Linked DNA regions of Homo sapiens: region 2 is linked to region 1. Evidence: promoter capture Hi-C in human tissues and cell types (Jung and others, 2019). All regions are on one chromosome and are shown on one strand. The core of a region is centred on a gene start or on the middle of the fragment in contact, and the rest is flanking DNA. Distances in the headings are between cores, read along the strand shown.

Region 1 (6,956 bases), core at 28-2,527:
AACCGGCTGGCCACGCCGAAGATGCTCACCACGCCCCGCTCCACGGGCGAGAGCTCCAGCAGGCCTGGGGGCGGGGCGCAGGTCATTGCGGGGCAGGTGATCCCTGGCCCACTCCGCCCCTCGGCTTGTTCGCCTCCGGGGACCCTATTTCTGGGGTGGGGTTGGGGATAAAGGGCCAGGGTTCCCGGCGCAGCCGCCCCCAAGGGCCTCCAGAGCCCAAGCTGCCCTCTAGGGCCTCCGGAGCCCAAGCCTGCGCTAGCTCAGATTAGCTTGCCTGTGTAGGGGACCCCCGGCGGCCGCACCCAGTCCCGGACCTTCAGACGCGAGCCCGACCCCAGCGGTTCCCCAGCCTGGGCCAGGCCGGGGCGCGTGTCTCGGGCCCCCTGTGGCTGCACCGCGCGCCCTGTGCCCACGGGCGAAGGCGCTGGAATTCGGCGCTCGGAGCCCGAGTTTCTGAAGGCGGGAGGCGGCGCCCGACCTCAGGGGTTGCGCTGGGCTGCCGGAGCCAAGAGTGTCTGCGTCCCCAGCCCCGCGTCAGAAGGGACCGGAGCCCGAGTCCGCCCCGGTTCCCGGGGCCCCCGAGCAGGTGCCCGCCGAGGGTCTCAGAGTGTGACTGAGCGGGTTGGCCCGGCGGCCGTTGCCCCCCGCCCCCGCCCCTTCGCGCCTGGCCGCGCCACTCACTGTCGCGGGTGTCCGCGTGCGCGCCGCCGATGCGGCCGTCGGGGAGCGCCTGGAGGTGGAAGCCGATGCCCACGTTGCAGTAGAGCCGCCGCAGCCGCTTGATGCCCAGCAGGTAGTCGCCGGCGCCGCTCTGGACGGCCGCCTCCTTGGGCTGCGCTGCCACCGGCAGGCGCGCCAACGAGAGCGCCACCAGGCTCTCCCAGCGGCGCTCCAGCTCGGCCTCCAGCGTGCCGTTGGGTGCAGTGGGTGCGGCGGCGCCCCCTCGGCCCGCCCAGGGCGCCAGCAAGGCCAGCAGGACCGCCGGGAGCAGCGCTACCGCGGCCGTCCCGGGCCCCGACATCCCGGCCCGAGGGCCGTGCGTCGGTCAGGCGGTCAGTGCGCCCGGGAAGCTGGGGGGCAGAGCTGCGCCTGTGGCGTCCCGCGGGAGCGCACGGCCGACCTCGGGCAGGAGTGCGCAACCGAGGAGGTGCGGGAGGCAAGCGACGGGGCCCCCGGGCGCCGGGCTCTACCCCGGCTGCATGGAGCGGCGAGCCGGGCGGAAAGCGCGCGGCTGGAGCTGGGACTCTGAGGAGCAGTGCGCGCCTCCCTGAGCGCCAGGCCCGCCCGAGGCCGAGCCGCTATATATATAGCCCGGCGCCCCCTCCTACTCGCCCGCTCCCGCGGGGGGCCGTTCGCGTTCTCCTGGGCGCCCGGGGCGCTGTGGCGTTCGCGGCTGGTCGCAGGCCGCCTGCCAATCAGGGCCGGGGGAAGGGAGGAGGCTGGGGACTAGCGCCGCGAGTGCCACCTGGAGGGACCCCGGCCCCCACCCTTGGCTCCGCCCGGCCCACGGACCTGTTCGTCCCGCCCCTTGGCGGCTCCTACACTTCTGCTTTTCAGCCAGTTTTGCCTCTTGCACTTTGTCCCTGCCTGTCCCCGTCCCCGTCTCCCTCTCTGCTCCGGCCGCCTTGGCGCAGCCCTAACTCGGGCATCCGAAGCTCCTAGTGGGCGCAGAAGCCAGCGGCTGCTGCCTGCCCTTCGCCTTTCGGAGGCTCACGGGAACTTGGTTCCTTTGCTGGGGCCTTGAGGACCGGCCTGGGAAGGAGGGGTGGATAAGAGCAGTAAGCGACACCGGGGCCTGGCTGGGCAAGGGAGGACCCTTTGGCTACAGGCGGGAGGGAGGCCACCCCCACCCCCTAGGTCTTGGCCCCACAGGCTTGGCGCGTTTCTGGGCTGGAGTTCTGAATACCTGGTGGAGGTCCACCTGAGCCAAAGGGCAAGGTGGCAGAGATGCACCCAGGGAGGCCTGGTCCTGCACCCCCTACACACACACCCTTCCGTGAAAGGACAGGTAGCAGGGCATAGGGCCAGAGGGGATATTCAGCATCCCCTGCTCCTTTGATTCCACAGCAGAAATATCCATGTACCATAGCCAGAGCCCTCAATCTAGCAGGGACCCAGGCCAGGCCTCTGGAAGCCTCCCCTCTCTCACTCATGGTTCTACCTCCCACTGTGCCCATTATGGCCTGATGGGGACTGTCCTAGCTAGATGCAGGCCCACCTAGGTGTGAAAACCCCTGTTCTTTGTGGTCCCTGAGGAGCCTGCCTGGCCCTTCCTGCAGGCCCGCCTAGCCACAGCTGCAGGGGGCTTGGTGCCTACCCCATCTCTCATACCACCAGCACCTGTGACCAGAGATGTCCCCAGGCCACCGCAGCCTCCTCCACCTCCACCGCATCCCCACAGGGAGATTCCTGGGACCCCTTCAGAACCCTGCTGGGGCTTATTCGTGCCCCTGGAGGGGACCTGGGAGGCTTGAGGGCTCTTCTCTGAGGTGCAGAAAGGGGGGCACTTGGGGGTCATCAAGTGGCTTTGGCAGGACCGGAACCTCAGCTCCGCACCCCTTGAGAGGATCTTTGTTCCTCCTTGGGCCTGCAGCCTGCTTGGGCAGCGCCACCCAGACCTGGACCTTCCTGGGCTGCAGCTCACAGCTTCGAGATGCAACCCGGCTGCCTCTGGGTCCTGGGGTCCCCCAGATGAGCCTGCAGATCTGGTGCCAAATAGACATCGTTGGCCAGGGTGCAGGGTGCAGGGTGCAGGGGACCTAGAACCCATCCCTCACTTGCTGTGTTGTCTTTCCATCTCTAGGTCCCTGACTCCCCATTTGCAAAATGACATGGGAGGTGGGCTTTCCTCCCTCAGCCTGGGGCCAACCGAACACACCCTCTGGGGAAGTGAGACCCAGGCCTGGAGACCCACCTGTGCCAGCTGACCTGAGCAGAGGGACTCTGATGTCTTCCCCCGGCTTTTGATAGGATGAGGCTCCTTTCTTCCCAGGACTCCCACAGCAAGCTCAATTTAGGGCTTCCCAAGGACCCCTCCCTGTCTCTCCTATTTGCTGTGAGTTCAGCAAAGGACGCTGCAGGCAGCTGATATATCTCCCAGAACTGCAGGCCCACCCACACAGGATAGGTGCTTGTGGTGACTGGGGACTGACAGCCAGCAGGGCTTTTGGGAGCTGGGAATTCCCAGCAGAACTGATCTGGAATCTGGCTTCCACTTTGCTCCGGGTGCTCCCTGAGCACACTCTCAACCTCCGCAGGCCCTGGCCTCCTCAGCTGTGCAATGGAGGCAACAAAAGCACAGGTAAGGAAGAATTGCGGATGAAGGATGCACCAGGAAGCACTCACTTATCTGCATCTGACCCCTTTCCGTGCCCCTGGCCCTTGACCTGGCTTCCCACCTGCTTCCTTTCTGCTCCTGTGTTCCCGCCATGCTGACCGCGTCATCTCTCCCCTTCCCACTGGATGACCCCCGGCCCCAGATCTTCCTGCCAATGACTTATCCCATTCAGGTTTGCCTGAATGGAGAAGCCACTCCATTGGAGTAGCCACTCGGGGATGCCTTCTGGATCCCCTGCCCAGTCCTTCTGGTTGGAGCTTCTTTGAGCTCTTAAGAGAACCTTCTGCACTTGTTAGCTGACCCTCCACCGCATTTAGATTGTCATCTCCATGGAGCAAGCCCGGATTTGTGTTGTTGCCAGTTGTACCTCCAGTGCTGGGCACATAGTAGGTGCTCAATAGCTGTTTGTGAGTAAATGGCTGGCTAGGTACACTAGGAGCTCATCCATCAGCAATCCTCACTGCAAGCTGCCCTGCCCAATCTGCCACTGTGCCCCGGGGCAGACAAACAGAGGTACCTGCAAAGGCCTCAGGCAGAGCTGCCCCTATGGGAAGGTCTGCATTGCCTTTTTTTTTCTTTATGTGAAAGAAATAGTTGGACCAAGGTGACTAAATCTTTTCCAGATCTGGTTACTTCTCAGCAGAGAGACAAGGGGACCTATATATAATTTTTTTTTTTTTTTTGAGATAGTATCTTGCTCCATTGCCCAGGCTAAAGTGCAGTGGCTCTATCATAGCTCTACAGCCTCAAACTTCCAGGCTTAAGCAATCCTCCAGCCTCAGTCTCCTGAGTAGCTGGGACTACACACTCAGCTAATTTTTTGTTTTCTTTTTTAGTAGAGACGAGGTCTCGCTGTATTGCCCGGGCTGGACTCAAACTTTTGACCTCAAGCAATCCTCCCGCCTCAGCCTCCCAAAGTGCTGGGATTACAGGCATGAGCCACTGCACCTGGCCAGGTGATCTAGAAACAGGACCCTCACTTAGCTTGGACCCAAAGCCCTTCTGCCATGCTTTACCCCAGGACGCCCGCTTTGCCAAGTCCTGGGGTTCGAGGAAGGCTTGGGGCCATGTTGGGCTTCCGGTTGGGTTCAAGTTTAGGCTGTCTCCCTGTTAGTTGTATAACCTTACGCTATTTCACTTCTTAGCATTCTCAGTTTCCCCATCTGTAAAATGGGCATGAGCTGATGTCGGCCTTAGCAAGACAGTGCCTGACCTCAGGAAGAGGCTGAGCAAAGTGAGCTGTTTAGACTGCAAGCCCCTTGGGGGTGGTTCAAACTGGGTCTGATTAACAGTAAATGCTGGGAATTTGTGAAATAAACAAAGCCATGTCATTATCGGGTGGAAGTCTCCCTGTACGTCATCAGCCACTGGAGGGGTAATAAATTGAGGGAGAGGAGCAAAGGCCCAGAAAGCCTCCTAACAGTGACCTTTTTCGACCTCCAAAAAAAAAAAAACAACAATGTAGGATCTTCATGTGAATGGTCCCGTCTCCCGTGAAGGAGTGAAGAGGCTTCTCAGAGCCACCAGCTCAGGTGTTAGCTGTTAAGAACTTACTTGGCTTAATAGTAATAATAATAAAAAAGAAAGTGCTGCATAATAGTCCACTTATAGTCCTCAGGGCAAAATGACTGAGCTCAGCCCGGGGCAAGGGCCCAGGCTGTGTAAACTTTGTAAATAGCTCAACTGCTTTCTCAATTCAACTTCCCTTTCTTGGCTTCAGCAAGACACCCTCACAATGATGTCTTTCTGCAAAAGTCCAGGAGGATGATAAGGCCGGTGGGATAGACTGGTCTACACTGAGCCGAAGCACCCCAAAGCAAGTGGCATGTTTTTCTTTAGGACCTTCAGAATAAGGGGAGATTGAGCCAATTTTTTTTTTTAGCTTTTTAAAAAATGGTGTTAATTGGGTGCGGTGGCTCACCCCTGTAATCCCAGCACTTTGGGAGGCCGAGGCAGGCAGATCACTTGAGGTCAGGAGTTCGAGACCAGCCTGGCCAACATTGTGAAACCCCATTTCTACTAAAAATACAAAATTAGCTGGGCGTAGTGGTGCATGCCTGTAATCCCAGCTACTCAGGAGGCTGAGGCAGGAGAATCGCTTGAACCTGGGAGGTGGAGGTTGCAGTGAGCTGAGATCGCGCCAGTGCACTCCAGCCTGGGCGCTACAGAGCGAGTCTCCGTCTCAAAAAAGAAAAAAAAAGGTGGTAAAATATACATGATACATAACATAAAATTGATGTTAACCTATTTTTTTTTTGAGGTGGAGTCTTGCTCTGTCACCCAGGCTGGAGTGCAGTGGCGCGATCGTGGCTCACTGCAAGCTCCGCCTCCCAGGTTCACGCCATTCTCCTGCCTCAGCCTCCTGAGTAGCTGGGACTACAAGCGCCCGCCACCACGCCCGGCTAATTTTTTTTTTTTTTTTGTATTTTTAGTAGAGATGGGGTTTTACCGTGTTAGCCAGGATGGTCTCGGTCTCCTGACCTCGTGATCCACCCACCTCGGCCTCCCAAAGTGCTAGGATTACAGGCATGAGCCACCGTGTCTGGCCTGATGTTAACTATTTTTTAAAAGACTTTTTTCAGAGCAGTTTTAAGTTCACAGCAAAATGGAGAGGAAGGTACAGAGAGTTCCCTTACACCCTCTGTCCCCACACACTCACAGCCTCTCTCATTTTAGCCATTGTTAAGTGCACGGGTAAGTGGCATTAAGGACACTCACATTCTAGTGCAACCATCACCACCATCCATCTCCAGATGGTTTTCATCTTCCCAAACTGAAACTCCCTGCCCATTAAACACTTGCTCCCCATTCGGCTCCCCCAGCCCCGGCACCCACCATCTTCGCTTTCTGTGTCTACGAATTTGACTACTTAGGGACCTCATGAGTGGAATCACACAATGTTTGTCCTTTTTGTATCTGGCTGATTTCACTTAGCATAACATCATCAAGATTCATCCACGATGTAGCATGTGTGGGAGTTTGCTTTCTTTTTTTCTTTTTTAGAGGCTGAATAATATTCCAGGTATGGATGGGCCACGTTTTATTTATTTACTTATCTGTCAGCGGTCCCTGAGCTGCTCCCACCTTTTGGCTACTGTGGACGATGCTGCTGTGAACCTCGGTGTGCAAATATCTGTTTGAGTTCCTGCTTTCATTTCTTGTGGGAATATGCCCAGAAATGGAATTGCTGGATGAGGTGATAATTCTATGTTTAAGTTTTTGAGAAACTGCCATACTGTTTTCCATGTTTTTTTTTTTGTTGTTGTTTGTTTGTTTGTTTTTTGTTGTTGTTGTTGTTGTTTTCAAGTTACCTTGATCCTGGGGCATTAAAGAGACAGCAGGTCACTCCTTGGCTTATAGCGATGTCTTACCCAGTTCTGCGTCCAGGAGAGTTTCCCCTCTCCCGTTATTCTGCCCTGTTTCTCTTCTACTCTGAAGGTGGCCCAGCCAGGTCTGGGCGACAGGCTTTGGGGGCGGTTTCAATGACTGCGAATCAATAAAACCACCTGCCTCCCTGTGCACACGCGTGCAGATCTTTTGCACATATCAGATACTCAACCCTGGGAAGATGGAAGACAAGCCATGCCTCAGTTTCCTCATCTGTAAAATGTGGAAAATC
Region 2 (7,038 bases), core at 1,211-3,710, 86 kb after region 1:
CTCAGCCTTGTCTTATCTTTCGTGACTTTGACGCTTTTGAAGAGTGATGGTAAGTTATTTAGCAGAATTTTCCTCAATTTGGGTTTATCTGATGTTATCTCATGATAAGGTGGAGGTTATGCATTTTTGCAAGAATACCCTAGAAGCAATGCCCATGTCACTGTATCTCATTAGTGGCAAAGTTAACCTAGATCACTTGGTTAAGGTGGTGTCTTCCTTACTACTTTTCCTGTTGTAATTAATAACTTTAGGAGCAATACTTTCAGACTATGCAAATATCCTCTTTCTCCTCAAACTTGTACCCACTAATTTTAGCCTCAACCAGCAGATATTACCTGTAACAATTATTGAGAAGTGAGGCCAGCTGGACTTTCTGGGTCGAGTGGGGACTTAGGGAACTTTCCTGTCTTAAAAGAGGATTGTAAAATGCACCAATTAGCCCTCTGTAAAACGCACCAGTCAGCGCTCTGTAAAACTCACCAGTCAGCGCTCTGTAAAACACACCAATCAGTGCTCTGCAAAATGCACCAATCAGCAGGATTCTAAAAGTAGCCAATCACTGGGAGGACTGAAAAAAGGGCATTCTGATAGGACAGAAACAGAACATGGGCGGGGCCAATAGGGAAATAAAAGCTGGCCACCTCAGCCAGCAGGGGCAACTCACTCGGGTCCCCTTGGATGTGGTGGAAGCTTTGTCCTTTTGCTCTTCACAATAAACCTTGCTGCTACTTACTCTTTGGGTCCGGGACATCTTTAAGAGCTGTAGCACCCACCACGAAGGTCTGCTGCTTCATTCTTGAAGTCAGCGAGACCACGAACCCACCAGCGGGAACCAACTCTGGACACATTATGACTGTGATGACTTTGTTGTTCTAATGGTGATTTTCTATTTTCCAAATTCTTTCTACATTTATTAATTGGATTCTTTGGTAAGGAAGAGCTGTCGCTTCTTCTCATTTATCCCTTTACTCCCCAGTTCTAAGGTACCAGATCCATTTCTTCCCATGCAGCAGGGGAGGCTTTTGTATTATACGAACTTGCAGTTCTTGTCTTTTCTACAGACTGGCCCACGGGTCACCCACAGCGACACACCTTCAGGCTTCCTACACAAATCCTCCGATGTTCTCACGGTGTAAAAGCTGAGACTGTGATCACAAGTACAATTTTGTTTAATCTGAGAGAATGTTTTCTTCTTTAAAAAATATACACACAAGGGGATGGGGTAATACCAGGAAGAAAAAATAGCCACGTGTAGTTTTGGAGGAAAATGTGAGCTCTACCTCTGAGCTGGACTCCATGTTGCCCTCTGGAGAGGATCCTGTTTACAGTGCGTCTCTCCTGCTTCTGGCCCCACCCCGCTTCAAGTCTTGTTTGTTGGTCCTCGTGGTTAAATGACTGCAGAAATGCCCCTAATTATTTTCCTCCCCAACTCAACACTCCTGGTTGCAGCAATTCCTAGCAAGAGGCAAAGTCTATTTCCCTGTCCCTTGAATCAGGGTTGGTTTTGTAACTTGCTTTGGCCAAAAAAATGTGACTGCAGTGGCTGGGTGCAGTGGCTCATGCCTGTAATCACAGCACTTTGAGAGGCGGAGGAGGGAAGATTGCTTGAGTCCAAGAGTTCGAGACCAGCCTGGACAACACAGTGAAACCCTGTCTCTACAAAAAAACACAAAAAATTAGTTTGTGTTGCCATGGTAGCATGCACCTGCAGTCCCACCTACTCAGAAGGCTAAGGTGAGAGGATTGCTTGAGCTGGGAAGGCGAAGGTTGCAGTGAGCCATGATTACACCACTGCACTCCAGCCTGAGCAACAGAGAGAGACTCTGTCTCAAAAAAGAAAAAAAAAATAGAATTGTGGCAGCAGAGACCAGCCACCAATTCTGAGCCTAGGCCCTAAGAGGACCCAGGACTCTTACCAGGGGCTGGCCTGCTGGAGGAAGAGAGACAGTGGCCCAGTGGTCCACCGTGACTCCAGCTGAGAGCTGCCCAATCTTCAGGCATGGAAGTGAGGGCATCCTAAACCAGCCAGCCCACCTGCTGTCTGCAGACATACGATGAGTCCAGCCAAGATCCCCCGAGCTTCATCCAGATAAGCAGGACTGCCCGGCTGACCCCTGGGCTTGTGAATAGAAGAAGCACTCCTCATGTGAAGTCACCGAGTTTGGAGTGGTTTGCTGTGCAGTGATAACTACTTGGTACTGTCCTTCCTGAGCCACTCTCACTCTAAACCCAGATCCCGCAACACCTCCAGCAGATCCCCAGGACTCTTGGGATGCAGTGCACGGAGCATTCGCTTGGTCCAGCCCATTATAGGAGGGATGACACCAAGAGGGATCAGGTGACCTGCCCAAAGGGAGGCAGCAAGGTACAGGCATATTGTGGGGCTAGAACCCTGGACTCCAGCTTCCTAGTCGAGTGCTTTTTCCAGGACCCTTTCTGCTTTTACTTTGACAACTTCTTCCCCAGAGCTCAGCTCTCACTCCTCAGACCAAGTAGCTCCAAATCCTTGGGCTCACCTGCACAGACCCAAGGCTGACCTTGGCAATCCAGAACTCCTGCCCATCTGGGACAGGTGTCAAAAACGAGGGCTCCTCTTGCTTCACCTGGATAGTGGCCACCTCTACCTCTCTCTCATCTTTCTCCTGCAGGAAACGGCCGTGGTCCTGCCAGCCCCCGCTTTTGGAGGGGCCTCCGACACTCTGGGCAAACCTAGTTTCTGAGGACTCATTGCCCCAGAAGCATTGGCTAAGTGAAAGATTAATGAACAGAGGTTCATAGGATCTGGAAAGGCTTCTAACTGGAATGATCTGAAACTAAAAATTAATGACAATGGCAGCCGCAATGTAATAGCTGTGTGGTTTATTGAGGTCTTACTGCATCCCCGATGGAGCTGAGTGTGTCTCATGCTGTGTGTCATTTCATGCATGCAACAACTGTATGATACAACTACTATTATCCCTGTTTTACGGGGAAGAAACTCAGAGAAATGCAGAAATTGTCCATCATCACACTGGATCACCCCCTTGGAGAAGCTTCCCTGACCACCCTAGCAAGGACACAAGCCCCACCACTGCCTGCCCCTGAGCACTGGTCACATTGGACATCTCACCCACGCATTGGTTTACTGTCCGGCTTTCCCTTGTGGGACACACAGCCACATGAGCCCAGTCTGTCCCGCTCACAGCTGTATCCAAGGCCTGGAGCATGGCAACAGGCAAACAGAGACCCGTGGAGGGAATGGTCGGGGAATATTGGGGTTGTAAGAATGGCCCTCGTGGAGGGGAGCAAGGTGTCAATCAGCTGATGACATAGTGCATATTTGATGACCCCTTGGTGGGTGCAGGTTGCTGGGGACCTGGTGCTATCGAAGATTACAGATGGGCTGGCAGGGGCCCTTTCTCTCTTATGGAATCAAGCACGGCCCGCAAAGGTTGCTACTGAGCCGGCCTGCAGTGGCCCCGACCAAGCAGTGGCCCCGGCTGCAGCCAGGGCCTTTGGAAACCTCATCAAAATGAAGAGTGGCCTCGTGCGTGCTGACCGGGGGGCTGGTGGCCCACGGAGACGGCATTCCCAGAGACTACAAGGAGCCGGTGGCCCTTTCTTCAACCGCCAAACAACAGCCAATCTCGGCCCCACAAAGACGGGCGCATGAATCACTTCTGCAGAGACTGCATTTCCTTTGAGGGGCTGTCACTGGCACCGGGCGGTAAGAAAACATTTTGTCATGCACATCAGCTGCCTTTCTCTGGGCCTTGGGTGGCCCAGGGCCACTCCCCCACCCAAGGGGACGGCTGTCCCGGTCAGTGCTCATCCATCAAGCTCATAATGAGGTGGCAAATTGCTGTCTTGGAGAGACACTCAAAAGCCAACTACTTCAGCCTGTCCATGGAGGTGTCAACGGCCGGGCCCCAGGAGATAGCTCCCTCCAGGAGGCCTTCTATGGGGGCAGAGGTGGGAGTTTTACTGATCACTAAAGAAGTTGCAGCACCCACCAGCAACTCCCTGGTCCCCTGGGGGTCAGGCTGCCCTGGCCCCACTTACTGCCCATTGCAGCCAGAGGCTGACATCTGTCCCCACCCCTGGGATCCCCATAACCCTGAATCCTTGTTGGCTTCAGAGTCAGCTGAGAAGACCTCCTCTTCCTCCTCCCCCAAGTTCCAGGCCTCAGGGACAGCCAAGGAGAGCAGCAGCAGCGCCTTCCCTGGCCTTTGACCTGAAGACATCTATGATGATGATGATGATGGTGGTGGTGGTGGTGGCTACAGGGTGGGCAGCAGCTTCCTTCACTCATAACTGAGGCTTCCACACTCTATTAGCCCTCATGACCACCCAGGAGGGATGTAGACCTGTGCCCCCATTTCACAGATAAGAAAGGGAGAGGTCATGTGAGCTCCCCACATCACCGCACCAGTGGGAGAGCCAGCCCACTCCAGAGCCCAGGCAGCCGCACACTCGCTCTCAGACAACATCCACCCAGGCCACGAAGAGACCAGTGTCCCGCCAGACCACTCGCTCCCCAGCCCTGACCCTCGGGGACTCACTTCCCTGCTCGTCTGTGTGGTGTGACCGCCCACCTGTGTCCCCCAGCAGGTTCATTTGGGCTCTTTGCAGCTCTCTGTACGTGGGATCCCGCTGGATGTGCTCCTCTGTGGCCGCTCTGTGGCTTCTCTCCATCCAGGCCATTCGGGAAGGTCTATCTGAGCTGCCGCGTGGTTTGACACTTTACTAGGCCCACTGCTGTGTCATATGTCCCAGCATGGATGCTTCCAAGTCCACGGCCCTGTCATTTCTCAAGGCCAGGAAGGGCTCCCAGCTCTGAGGCCCAGGCACTGGTGAGCACCTGCTGCAGTTGGGCCTTCTGAGCCCCCAAGAGCCCCCTGAGGCTTCCTCCTTCCCCAGTGAGGTTTGGTGGGGTGGGGTGGGGCACAGAGAGGTGCAGCCACGGCAGGACAGCCTCTGGGACCCACCCAATGCAGCGCCCTGCCTTTGCACACGCGGAAACCCTTTGGCCCTCAAAGAAGCAGCTTCCATCCTGGCTCCCTCCGGCTTCCAGGCCCTCACTGCGGCTTTGGACCTGGGTTCACAGGGCAGGTGGGTGCAGAGGGCCTCCCGCCACCTGCAGAGCCACAAGTAGCCGCACACGGCCGGGGCCTCAAGTGTCCACCTTGATTTAGGTCAATGCTGCCTTCTTTCCCCCACCCCTCCTTTCATCCCACCACCCCCTTAAATGGTGGGCCAGGCTATGGTGCCCTGGAGGCCACTGTTCCTTTTGCTCCAAGTTTTCAGCTCTGTGGGCTGTGGGGCAGGTGACTCAGGCCAAGCAGATGCGTTGCATCCTGCTGGGAAAACTCGATTTTGTAGACATTTGCCAGGATTGCCACTGAACATTTGGGGGGGTGGGGTGGGTGCAGTGGGGGACAGAAATGGCAGGAGTAGGGGCCGTGCAGTGGCCAGGCTGTGGGGGAGGAAAGGCAGGGAGCACGGTGGCCTCTGCCACCTCTAGGAATGGGCAGAGAGCCCCAGGGAGGCCCCTTTGACCTGCAGTGTGACCTCGGGAAGGCCCCTCCGCATCTCTGGTCTTGGGTGAAATCATTGAAAATACAAGGAAATAGAGAGAAGGCCATGCTAGGTGCGTTCTGAGGGCTGGAGGTGCCGTGGGACCCATCCACGTGGTCTCTCCTTCCCTGAGCTCACACCACAGGGAGGGAGGGAACCAGTGCCCAGTCTGGTTTCTGGGGAGGGGAGAAGCGAGAGGAAGAAAGTAAAGCAGAGGTGAGCAGGAGGCAGCTGGAGCAGCGTAGGAGGGGGACGTGGAAGCAGCGTTAGGGCGGGAGGGTGACCTCTGAGCAGAGGGTGGAGAAGAGCCCAGCCATGCCCGGGAGTGGGGATGCAGGAGAGACTGTAGGCAGAGGCAGCTGCTGGAGGTGAAGCCCAGGGCTGGCTGGGCACCTTCCCATGGTGGAGACCGAGCTCGTGCCCAGCACAGAATGGTGGATGGGGTGATGGGGGGAGGCTCAGCCAGGAGGGTCCCTGGGACTGCAGAGGCAGCCGCTGGGGCATGGATGTGAGTGGGTGGCGGGTGCACAGGGACTGAAAAGAGCCTGGCCTTTGGGGGTCAGAGCCCCGGGTTGGCATCCGTTTCCTCTCTCACTGGGGTGGAGATACTGGCAAGGACGGGGTGATGGCCTGAGCTCTGGACATCAGGAGCAAGGTGCTGTCAGCCCAGAGAGGGGTGGCTTCCTACTCACGGTCACACAGCCGGTGAGTCACAAAGCTGGGTTCTCAGCCCCTCTCTTTGGCTTGGGCCCAGTCATGAGACAGCTGTGGGAGCCCCGCATACAACAGGCTCCCGTGGAGGGAGAACCCAAGGCACCCGACAAGGTGGGCGTATTGAAGAGAAGAAACCAGGGGCCAGAACCGACTCAAGCCTCCGTCCTGAGAGCAGCACCCTGGAGTGGAATCCCACGGGCCTGCAAGAGACAAGCCGGGCCGTGCTTCCTGCCAGCACCTGGCCTGCTGCAGCCCACCTTTCTGTCCACCTGCGGGGCTCGACTCCACCACAGCCACCTCCTCCAGGAAGTCTGCCCAGATCCCCCCTCCCCTGCTGGTGTCCCAGTAAGCTCCTGCTGTTTACCTGCCCATCTCCCCTGCTGGCCCACAACTCTCGGTGTTTTATCTCCATTTCCCTTTGGCTGCACCCAGGAGATGTGACTTCGAACTAAGTAAGTGGATGTGTGGAAGGCGGGGGTGTCACAAAAGGGCTCACCCCAGGATCCCTGAGGTCAACCCTGACCCCCTGATTCTTATGTTTACCATGAGAACTGACCCCTGAAAACTCTATTTCCTAGACATTTGCCAGGACTGCCACTGAGCATGCAATGGCGGGTGGGGGCGGAGGTGCAGCAGGAGAAATGGCAGGAGTAGGGGCTTGCAGTGGCCAGGCTGTGGGGGAGGAAAAGCATGGAGCACGGTGGCCTCTGGCACCTCTGGGAACAGGCAATGCCCCAGGGAGGCCCCTCACCCCATGCTCACAATTCC

The links. Contacts are between HindIII fragments. The study calls those that stand out against the background at their distance.
Region 2: a contact is called between a fragment that was not itself captured here and the fragment with the promoter of FGF4 in region 1, in 5 of the 25 tissues and cell types used here (heart left ventricle, mesenchymal stem cells, mesendoderm cells and 2 more).

What each region holds. Positions count from the first base shown.
Region 1 is chr11:69,774,064-69,781,019 of GRCh38, forward strand. FGF4 (fibroblast growth factor 4) reads right to left here and starts at 1,278. Exons shown (of 3, transcript NM_002007.4): 1 at 682-1,278; 2 at 1-64. The coding sequence starts at 1,021. RefSeq lists enhancers at 1-177, 2,027-2,950 and promoters at 1,167-2,279, 1,167-1,562. The HindIII fragment of the contact is 23,973 bases long and covers 1-6,956 here.
Region 2 is chr11:69,858,961-69,865,998 of GRCh38, forward strand. No RefSeq gene overlaps it. Among named protein-coding and RNA genes, the nearest start is that of FGF3, 43 kb to the left of the region's middle. RefSeq lists enhancers at 5,797-6,354, 6,355-6,912, 6,913-7,038. The HindIII fragment of the contact is 5,190 bases long and covers 1-5,055 here.